Linked DNA regions of Homo sapiens: regions 1, 3 and 4 are each linked to region 2. The links are contacts of gene promoters, found by promoter capture Hi-C in human tissues and cell types (Jung and others, 2019). All regions are on one chromosome and are shown on one strand. Each heading gives the region's core, a stretch centred on a gene start or on the middle of the fragment in contact. The rest is flanking DNA. Distances are from core to core; before and after follow the strand shown. Region 1 has its middle 11 kb from the start of DLG1. Region 2 holds the start of WDR53 (WD repeat domain 53). Region 3 overlaps DLG1 (discs large MAGUK scaffold protein 1). Region 4 overlaps DLG1 (discs large MAGUK scaffold protein 1).

What was found. Contacts are between HindIII fragments. The study calls those that stand out against the background at their distance.
Region 1: a fragment that was not itself captured here is called in contact with the fragment with the promoter of WDR53 in region 2 in 1 of the 25 tissues and cell types used here (lymphoblastoid cells).
Region 3: a contact is called between a fragment that was not itself captured here and the fragment with the promoter of WDR53 in region 2, in 1 of the 25 tissues and cell types used here (mesenchymal stem cells).
Region 4: a fragment that was not itself captured here is called in contact with the fragment with the promoter of WDR53 in region 2 in 1 of the 25 tissues and cell types used here (mesenchymal stem cells).

The regions. Positions count from the first base shown.
Region 1 is chr3:197,307,885-197,310,584 of GRCh38, forward strand. No RefSeq gene overlaps it. Among named protein-coding and RNA genes, the nearest start is that of DLG1, 11 kb to the left of the region's middle. The HindIII fragment of the contact is 4,492 bases long and covers 1-2,700 here.
Region 2 is chr3:196,567,289-196,569,988 of GRCh38, forward strand. It overlaps WDR53 (WD repeat domain 53), which reads right to left and starts at 1,266. Exons shown (of 4, transcript NM_182627.3): 1 at 1,231-1,266; 2 at 1-19. It overlaps FBXO45 (F-box protein 45), which reads left to right and starts at 1,372. Exons shown (of 3, transcript NM_001105573.2): 1 at 1,372-2,014. The coding sequence starts at 1,697. RefSeq lists enhancers at 1-607, 2,625-2,700 and silencers at 1,329-1,868, 1,990-2,284. The HindIII fragment of the contact is 3,803 bases long and covers 1-2,700 here.
Region 3 is chr3:197,119,421-197,122,120 of GRCh38, forward strand. It overlaps DLG1 (discs large MAGUK scaffold protein 1), which reads right to left. Exons shown (of 25, transcript NM_001366207.1): 12 at 1-110. Among named protein-coding and RNA genes, the nearest start is that of MELTF, 91 kb to the left of the region's middle. The HindIII fragment of the contact is 7,210 bases long and covers 1-2,700 here.
Region 4 is chr3:197,099,486-197,102,185 of GRCh38, forward strand. The region is part of intron 14 of DLG1 (discs large MAGUK scaffold protein 1); the gene reads right to left. Among named protein-coding and RNA genes, the nearest start is that of MELTF, 71 kb to the left of the region's middle. The HindIII fragment of the contact is 3,098 bases long and covers 1-2,700 here.

The DNA.
Region 1 (2,700 bases), core at 74-2,573, 740 kb after region 2:
AGACTCCTTCTCAAAACAAACAAACAAAAACGAATGGATTTAAACAAGTTGGCAAGTCACTTTGCGTGCCACTACATTTTGAAATGTCAAGGGGGATTGGGATGAGAAAGTAATTCAAGAAATTGCTATATATGATGAAAGACTGAATACACACCAGACCATATATGACAACAGAACTCTGTGATCCACAACCTCTGCAGCAAGCAACCCAGGAAATCAGACAACAACCACTGCAGTAATTGGCCTAAAATAATCAGAACTTGGTCAATGACTGCCAGCTTCCCTATTTTTTTTTTTTTTTTTTTGAGACGGAGTCTCACTCTGTCGCCCAGGCTGGAGTGCAGTGGCGCGATCTCGGATCACTGCAGGCTCCGCCTCCCGGGTTCACACCATTCTCCTGCCTCAGCCTCCCGAGGAGCTGGGACTACAGGCACCCGCCACCACGCCCGGCTATTTTTTTTGTATTTTTTAGTAGAGACGGGGTTTCACCATGTTAGCCAGGATGGTCTCGATCTCCTGACCTCGTGATCCGCCTGCCTCGGCCTCCCAAAGTGCTGGGATTACAGGCGTAAGCCACCACGCCCGGCCCAGCTTCACTAATTTTTACCATCTTTCAACTCAAGGCCAATCAGAGAAAGGCAAGTATTCTCCCTAAATCAATCATACAAAATGCCTTGCTTCTAGTTATCTTGCCTCCAGCTTTTCCATACCTGAGGATCTCCTTTTCTCTTCTTTTAATTATAAAGCTTTCCTACTCCCTTGCCTGCCTTTGAGCCTCTGCCAAATGCAAGTGACGGTGCTCACTCCCTCGCTATAGCAAGCTCTGTATAAATAGCCTCTGTTCTCATTCAGGTGGTCATCACTTACTTCCACAGACAGGGAAAGTTCCTAAAAACAGACAGAAAAATTGTTTAGTCTGCTACTTTAATAAAAGCCTTATTCATCAGGTCATTCAGTAAACTAATCTGTATGATGCAACTACTATGAGCCAGGAACTAAAACAAATTCTATTTCTCTAGGAAAATTTGTCTGAGAAGGAAATTGCAAAGCTGAAGCCTTGGGACTTGAAAATTCAAATCTTCCGTCTTTGTTTATGGTCTGTAGCAGGCAAACAACTTCGAACTTCTCAAGGTTGCTTGGCTAAACACGAACGAGTGGATGAAGAGAACACCTCAGCAATAAATATAATGCCTGGAAAAGAATTTTACTAAGAACAATGTTTTTTATGCCACTTTTTAATTTTTTTAAAAATTTCTCATTACCTCTGAAGATTTGTGACACTATTGTTTGAGCCATTATTTTTTAAATGATACATATAACTGCTTGTCTAGGATGGTTTCTCTTTCTTTCTCTTTCTCTCAATTATCTTCAGTTTTCTAATCTAGACCACAAAGTTCTCCATTAATAAAGTTGGCAAACAAAGTGTCTGAAAACATTTTGTTACAGGGAATGATATTCTGCTAAGTTTTACTGAAGATGGAATTTTCATTAGTACTGCTAATGAACCATTCTTATTCCTTTTGGGAACTATGATTTATTAAAAGAATTGTACGTTTTTTAAAAACACCAAAAGAATTACACTCATTCATTTTCAATATGACTAGGGTATTTGCAATAGAAAACTTAGTGAGTATTCCCTAAAGTCACGGTGGCTTTTAAACACTGCATAATTCTGGGTATTAACATCAGGAAAGCATTGCACTGTTCCTCATTAGAAGGATAATGCCATTATAATAGCTTTACTCTGAGGCATAAAGCGGTTAAATGAAGCACCAGAAAAGGAAAAGCAAAAGTTTGTTTGGTGAATCATTCTTTTCTATGGTTTGGTGACCCTAAATTGAGCCAGAAAAGAATGCAGCTAGTGGCTTAATTTGAAGAATTTCCCAAGGAAATGATGCAATACTGTACAATTCTTATTGGTCTCTAACCTCTGGGATCTCTGTTCATGAAGCTGCCTATTAACACAGCTTTGCAAGTTAATTGTGAACAAATCAGGAGAGAATAAAAACTCAAACATAAATCTCTGATCTAACCACTTCATTTAGGAAGGGATTTGGAAGATCTTCTCGGACCAGTGTTTTTGATTCTCTTCTTTGCATTGTGACCTTATACTGGAAACTCAGGTGTGACTGCTATTATTCTGGTCCCAAGTGCCAGGAAGTTCAGATCAGGTTGAGGGCAAGCTCAGGCCAGGGTGACTCTGAGGTCAGGCTATTCACATGTCTTTTCTTAGGCTAGGATCGCTTGAGGAACACAACCACGTTGCTGGGGTTAATAGATCTATTCTCCAAAGCCAAAGTATTTGGCATGGTCAGCATAATTGTACTGTGTGTTGCAATTGGGCTCTGAGCACAGAGTCTTGCTGAGTGCCTTATGAATTTGGTCATGGAGAGAAGGCTGGTGCAGGAGTGAGCAAGGGAAACTCCTATTCAGAGAAAGTTTTTACTCCAGAAATCACCATTCCTTAGGAGAAGATTGCTTTAAAAAATTTTTTTTTAAATTTTTTATTTTTTGAGTTGGAGTCTCACTCTGTCGCCCAGGCTGGAGTGCTATGGAGGGATCTTGGCTCACTGCAACCTCCGCCTCCTGGGTTCAAGCGATTCTCCTGCCTCAGCCTCTCCAGTAGCTGGGATTACAGGCACCCGCCACCACACCCGGCTAATTTTTTGCCATGTTGGCCAGGCTGGTCTCGGACTCCTG
Region 2 (2,700 bases), core at 16-2,515:
AAGGGCTGTGGCGCTGGCACTGGTAAGAATGAAAAGAATTAGGGTTACTGGACTTGGTGAAAAAGACATGAGGAGAAGGGACAGGCAAATAATAATCAAACACCATGAATCAGAGGGTAGGGAAGGTAGCCACCGTTCCTTTGCTTTTACTAGAGACTAAGAAATGGATTATACATAGCAAGAAGCTTCAGAAAAGATTTCTTACTACATAAAGGTTCCAAGACATTGGAGTTGACCAAGGGAGTCTGTGAACCCTATTATTTTAATTACTCAGCTCATGGAGTTGTTTTGAGGATTACGTATATAAAAATCTGCGTAAATGACGTAGTATACAGTGCCTGGTTCACACCGTGGCTCAAATGATGGTTATTATTATTCTCTTACTAAGCATGCTTTAAAGGCTGTCGGAAAACTTTGGGGCCACCTAGGAAATCGTAGTATAATCAAATAATGCTGAAATTCTTGTGTGTGTGTGTGTGTGTGTGTGTGTGTGTGTGTGAGGTAGGGGCTCACTCTGTCGCCCAGGCTGGAGCACAGCAGGGCGATTACGGTTCACCTCAGCCTCGACCTCCCGGGCTCAGCCTCCCAAGTAGCTGGGACCAGAGGCGCACGCCACCACCCTCGGCTAATTTTTCTATTTTTTTGTAGCGACACTGCCTCGCAATGTTGCCCAAGCTGGGATGCTGAAATTCTTCCCCTTCCAAGAATCCATCTATAATTATAGCCTCCACGTCATTCTCCCTATTGGAATGTTTAATTGACTAAAACTACATTGCCTTCATCTGCTTACTAAGCGGTGGATCCAGTAAAGACCACATCTTGTCCAAAAGACGGCAGCACTTAATTAGCGCTCAAATGGCACTCGAACGTTTGGGCGAGGGGGTGTTCAGTCGCAGCCACCTTACTTTGCGAAGGCACACAGGGACAGACGTTCGCTAAGTGCCGATACTTAGGGAGAACGAGAGGGCCTGACCAGGTAAAGACGGCCTCCGCTGCCCAAGCTACACAAAAAGGTTGGGGAGCCAGGACCCGGCAAGCAAGGAGAGAAAAGTTTCATGCGTTGAGCTGGAGTCTGAAGCAAGGACCTAACGGACACAGGGAAACGTCACAGGAAAGGGAGCCCAGGAGAGCAGACGCGGAGCCACCAGACCAGAAAAAGGAAAAAGCACTGGAAAACAGCATCGAAGTCACCGGAAAGCAGCATCGAAGCCACCGGCGCCAGCCTCATACCTGCGCTTCCCGCTCCCCTCCTCGGCGCCTAGTGATAACCTCACCCGCCGGCGCCCAATCCCGTCGAGCGTCAGGCGTGAGGCGGCGCAGCCAAACAGTCACATCCGGGGCCGAGAGGAACCGCGAACGAGCTGGGCGTGCGCCCTTGCTTCGTGCCCTCAACCCGCATGGCGGAGCCGCTGGCGCGCCGCGGAGAGGCCGGGCGAGTCGGGCGGTTTCGGCGCCCGCGCTGAGCCGCGGAGGAGGGGCGGAGGACGCCCCTGCAGCCGGTGCGTCTGCCCTCAGTGAGGCGGGGCGCGCGGCGGACGCCCCCGGGCAGGGGCGGGAGTGGTGGAGGCGCCGGCGGTTGGCACTGACAGGGGCGGTGAGCGAGCCGCTCCGGTCTCCGGGCGAGGCTTGGCCTTCCGAGCAGAGACGGCGGGAAGCGGCGGCGGCAGCGGCGGCCCTAGGGCCGGCTGGTGAGGCGATGGCGGCGCCGGCCCCGGGGGCTGGGGCAGCCTCGGGCGGCGCTGGCTGTAGCGGCGGCGGCGCGGGCGCGGGCGCGGGCTCGGGCTCTGGGGCCGCGGGGGCCGGGGGCCGGCTGCCCAGCCGGGTGCTGGAGTTGGTGTTCTCTTACCTGGAGCTGTCCGAGCTGCGGAGCTGCGCCCTGGTGTGCAAGCACTGGTACCGCTGCCTGCACGGCGATGAGAACAGCGAGGTGTGGCGGAGCCTGTGCGCCCGCAGCCTGGCAGAAGAGGCTCTGCGCACGGACATCCTGTGCAACCTGCCCAGCTACAAGGCCAAGGTGAGAGAGCCCCGGGCCACACCGCTGCCCCCAGTCCCGCTCCCCGGCGTCGTTCGCGGTGTTTCTCATCCGAGCTTCTGAGTCAGAAGCTTCGCCTCACCAGCCCGCCTTTCCACGGCTCCAGTCAGTATCTTCCTCACCTCCCCCCAAGATAAAGATTCTCTTTTCTTTGGATCGAAGTTCTGCTCCTTAACCCATCCCACTTCCGTGATCCACTTTTCAAACAACTAGGTAGTTTGCCTCACTCATTCAACTTTTGACAGTTTTCCCCGTTAAAGACAGACCACCACTCTTGTACCTTTTAATGCCCTCATCCTACTTTTCTCCCCGGCCTCCAGATAGACTTCATTATATTAAATAATCCCGGCCACCTTAACATGGGCTTAGTTTCTAAGTTTCTAAGTTTCTAGTTTGCTTTCACTCCACGTTTATCTCATCTTTTCCAAGCTCTGATTTTTAACCATTTGTTTTCATTATTTTCCCCCAAGTTCTCTTTAGTTCCCTCCACTATATTGGAGGCTTACAAGTGAGTGTAGTTCTAGTCATCCTGCTCACTTACAAGATACAGGCTTTTATAGAACGTCCACGGGCACCACCTAACATACTGCTTTGTCCTGCTGTTATTGGCTGTTTCCTTGCTAACTTTTTAATAGTTCCACATTGATGGTGTCTCTCTTTTTCTATTT
Region 3 (2,700 bases), core at 40-2,539, 550 kb after region 2:
ATCATCTCCAAGTACTGCTTTAGAAACTGGGGAGTATCTGGCTGGAGATGCTGGTGTCTGGCCCAAGAAGGAAGATGGGCTAACATGGTTATCAACAGGCTGAGAAGAAGCTTCAAAATAAACAAAGTGAAAAATACTTCAAACACGAAACAAGCCAATCAGTATTCCATTTATGAGTGATTAATGTGTAATTTATATGCACTCCTTTATATATCAGAATTTGGTAGAGAAGATTTACTCATCAGCCAAAAAACTGGACATTATGTTGCCCAGGTTAGTCTCAAACTCCTGTCCTGAAGTGATACTCCCACCTCAGCCTCCCAAAGTGTTGGGATTACAGGCATAAGCCACCACACCCAGATTACTTAAAGAATTATATACAGTCCAAATTTGATTGTGAATAATAAAAATCAGAGGCTTTCCAATAAGTGCGAAAAGACTATGTCCTTATACTAGCTCAGATCTGTCAACCTAATTTACATCTATGCTTTTAAATTCACCCATAGAAGAATAAAAACCTGGTAAAAAGCAAAAACGAAAAACAAGCAAAAACTGTCGTCCAGGCGTAGTGGCTCACGCCTGTAACCCTAGCACTTTGGGAGGCCAAGGCAGGCGGATCACCTGAGGTCAGGAGTTCGCGACCAGCCTGGCCAACATGGTGAAATCCCATCTCTACCAAAAAAATACAAAAATTAGCCAGACTTGGTGGTGTGGCCTGTAGTCCCACTTACTCGGGAGGCTGAGGTGGGAGAATTGCTTGAACCTGGGAGGTGGAGGTTGCAGTGAGCCGAGATCGCATCACTGCACTCCAGCCTACGTAGGTGACAGAGTGAGATGCCCTGTCTCGAGAAAGAAAAAAAAAAAAAAAAAAGCAAAAACCAAACGTTGGTTCACTTCAATAGTAATAAATACCACATATAGGTTTTCCATTCTAGCAAAAGCTAATAACAGAAAATTATAGTGATTCCTGACCATGCTTTCTAAAGACACAGGTAGGTAACACATGGCAGCTGTAGCTTACAAAGACATAAGACACTTGAATTATTCCAATCATTACCAAAACACAGAGGAAGCAATATTTAACTTTCTTGAGGCTTCAACTATGATAAAGTTACAAAGCACTTCAAAAGTAGCTGTATTATTTAATTATCAAGCATTAATCTCTTTTTTATTAAATTAGAGCATATCTTCTATGGAGGGAAGCAGCATACTACGCACTGGAGTACAAAAATGCAGGAATTATTAGTTCAAATTACTATAGTGGCCAGATAGGTAACATAAAGGAATAAAGTGAACTGGATGAAAGACAACAGGAAATGACTGAAACGATAGTATTTTAGAGATGCAGTGTATCTATTGATATTACAGGTTTGCAGTATCCAACAGCAATTGTTTCCTATCCAGTTCATATATAAGATGCTCGTTTGTATTTGAGCCAAAGGACTTTCTACCAATGGCTCTTAACTTTGAAAGTCCAAAGTCTTTCCTGGGTGGTCAGTAAGAATATGGGATTTTCAAGTGAATTGGTATGTAGCCCTCAATCAATAGATACCCACGTGAACCTCTACAATCACTAGCCTGTTAAAAATCCAGAGTTTACTGATTTTTGACTCTTAAATTCTTTTGCTGCATTTTCATATTTAGATGAAACAAAAAAAACAACTAGACAAGAAATCCAGTCAAATGCCCAAACCAGAAAATATACATTTTCCCTGACACATCCAGACTATCCCTTTAGTCAATGCATCCTTTCTGGGGCAGTTAATCTCACATGTACCACATACTCTCAGACAACAGAGACTAAAAATTAATGTTCCTATGAAAGAAATGACGGCCTCAAAGAAGGATCAGATAAAACAGTACTATTTCTTATACCCCAAATCTTATGTAAAAAGGTCCCCCAGAGAAGCACAAGAGTGCCTAATTCATTTTTCTTATATATTAAGATGAATGATTCAACACTATAAGATTTTATAGAAAAGCAAGTAGAAGAGCTTGAAGTGAGAATGGGAAAAGACTGGTGTCCAAATCAGAAGTAGCAAGGCCATGCAGCTAAAGAGAATATAAGTTAAAAGCGAGAAAATATATACTGTAAAAAACAGGAACATTTTAATGTCGGCAGAGAAACTGTATTCTCTGTTAGATTCAACAGACTTCTTTTTTTTCCTACTTTTATTCCTGAGTATCATATTTTGACTACCTTATTTTGGTTATAAACATTGTGGCTCTTTATCTTCTATAGTTCATGTATAACTTCTATGATCTTCCCTATTTCTTTTACTATTCTTGCTAAAAATATTTTTCTAACTAGTACAAAAATTGTTTTCCAATTTTGACATCTGCTCACTTGCAAGGCTGCCTCTGTGAGAAACATCCCCTCCATCAATGCTTGACAATCACCACAAAAAAAAAAAAAAAAAAAAATCAAATGTTATCTAGTCCTCTTAGGTAACAAGAGAAAGAAAATCTGAACATTCTTGTGTCTGCTAAGGAAAATGCATTCAGAACTAAAATCCTTCCCAAGAAAACTCCAGGGCCAGACAGATAGATAGCTTCATTGGAAAATTCAACAAAACATCTAGAGATGAAATAACATTCTGAAACATTACAAGACAGAAAAATTTCAGGACACTATCGTTAAGTTCATGCTTGTGAACACAGATGTAAACCTAAACAAAATATAAGCAGTTCAAAATCAAT
Region 4 (2,700 bases), core at 142-2,641, 530 kb after region 2:
AAATTCCTGTATCAAACCATATTTCTTGTCATGAAACGTATTAGGACGTATCTGAACTGCTGGCTACAAGTTAGTATGTATACGCTTATACAAGGAGAGATATTTAAAAGCTGATTTTTTCATTTGATATCCCCTTTCAAATTTTAACCTTTGTTTTCACCGCCACACTAGAAGTAAAAAGTGAGGAAGGGGTATGGGGGAAATTGGACTTCCTCAATCTCTTCTTAACATGCAATCCCTATAAAGAAAAACATTCATTTATAACTGTAATAAAATACATTAAACACAGATATTAAACCCAAGAGAAACAATTCTCAGAGGATGGATACTATTAATTGGCCTAAAGAAAAAGGGAAACTATTTTTAAGAAGGCCAGTTAGTTGTTTTAAGTACAATAGCTCTCTGGCATACTCGGAGGATTAGTTCCAGAACCCCACGTATACCAAAACCCGTGCATGTTCAAGTCTAACAGGAGGCCTTGTGGAATCTGACAGGCATATGGCATTTTCTATCCCAGTTTGGTTGAACAGCACGTGCGTAAGTGGACACTCGCAGTTCAAACCTGTGTTGTTCAAGGGTCAACTGCAGCACAGGCGCGTAGAAAAATACAGCAAGGGAAGTGGGAAAGCAGGAGACTGAAAAAAATTTTAATTACCTATCTACTACTGAAAATGATAAGAAATGACAAATGTCTGCAAATAAATGCCACTAGTCCACTGCAATCTTCCCAGATTATCTCCACCTCTTCTCCCTTTGGTTGGTATAAGAAGTAATAATGAAAATAAAGTCAGGACACTGGGTGTTAGAAATCTACCTTTGTAACTCAAGATTTCAATCAAAGCTTTGAAGCGCAGAAAAGTTAAGTGACTATGGCCTAACCTCTCTAGACTCTGGTCACTTGCAAAATAGGGATTATGCCACCAAACAGTTTTTTTCTTGCGAAAATAAAATATGTCACAAATATAAGACCTAACCAATGGGAAAGAGAAAATAAATTTAACTTATATATTGAGTTTCTTTCCAATTTATTTCTTTTATGGTATTATTACAATATAATTAATGCTTTCTGAACAAAAGATTGAGATATAAGCTCTGAAAGTTGGCCTAATACTCTTGAGGAACAATAAGATTAAATATTTGAGGTGAGAGATTCCAAGAGTTTAATGAGTAGTTGAAAGAGTAAGAACAGGGTATGGAGACCCACCCAGAACCCCAGAGTTGCCACAAAGATTTTAAGCTGAAGATATCTGAGATTCAACAGATGCAGGAAAAAAGCCTTCTCGGAGTTTCTCTAATCTGACTAAAAGGTGCAGCTTCCGAGAAATGAAGTTACCATAAATACCCTCTGAGGAGTCTGATGGCCCCGAAGAATGGAAAGACCAGTCATACCAGTTTAGACAAATGTCATCACAAACTTTATCCCCCATCTCTTCTCCTAAAAACTTGTCTTTCCTGAAGAAATGTACGTTTTTCTAATAAAAGCTGTTTCTCCCTCCTTCCTTTCCCTACTAGATTAGGTGTACAAGCTTTTAACTTCATCCACAAGCTAGCTTCAGTATTTCTTCTGTTGCCTCTTGCATCCATATACAAGAAACTTTTTTTCCATGTTAATCTGTTTTTTTTGTCAGTTTACTTCACAGGCCCGTTACTGAACATACAAGGGTGGAGGAAAAGGTTTTTCTTCGCTTAAAAGGGGCTAGAAGAAATCTTAACCGTTTAACAGTTGTGTAACTAGCAAATTACTTGGTCTCTTTATGGAAGAGCTTATTCAACTACAACGTAAAACGGGGATAACGGTGCTTACTTACAGGATTATCTTGGGAGTTAAAAGAGTGAATAAACATAACATGGTTCGTATCATGCATGGCGTACAGTTTTACTATTATATACTATCACAGGAGATTCTTTTTTTTTTTTTGAGACAGAGTCTCGCTCTGTCGCCCAGGCTGGAGTGCAGTGGCGTGATCTCGGCTCACTGCAAGCTCGGCCTCCCGGGTTCACGCCATTCTCCTGCCTCAGCCTCGCGAGCAGCTGGGACTACAGGTGCCCGCCACCACGCCTGGCTAATTTTGGTTTTGTATTTTTAGTAGAGACGGGGTTTCACCGTGTTAGCCAGAATGGTCTCTATCTCCTGACCTCGTGATCTGCCCGCCTAGGCCTCCCAAAATGCTGGGATTACAGGCGTGAGCCACCGCGCCTGGCCAAGAGATTCTTAAACTATAGGAAGTATGTGATAAAACTTTATAACTTTGGGATATGGAGTCCAAAACGAGTATAGTATTATATTTCCAGTTCCCATGTTCGATTATTTTTATTTTTATTTTGAGACGGGGTCTCACTCTGTCGCCCAGGCTCAAGTGCAGTGGTGAGATCATAGCAATCCTGCCTTGGCTGGGACTACGGGTGCGCACTACCACGCATGGCTAATTAAAAAACTTTAAAAAAAGTTTTAGCAGAGACAAGATCTTGCTATGTTGCCCAGGCTGGTCTCGAACTCCTGGGCTCAAGTAATCCTCCCACCTAGGCCTTCCAAAGTGCTGGGATTAGAGGCCTGAGCCACCACGTCCAGCTAATTTCTGATAATGATTCTCCAAAAAGATTAACAGTAAAGGCCCCCCAAAGTGAATTATTCCTTGCCTTTGGAATTAATAAAACTGAAAGGAGTTAGAAGATAATGTTCCTTCATATGTCTTGTAGAGA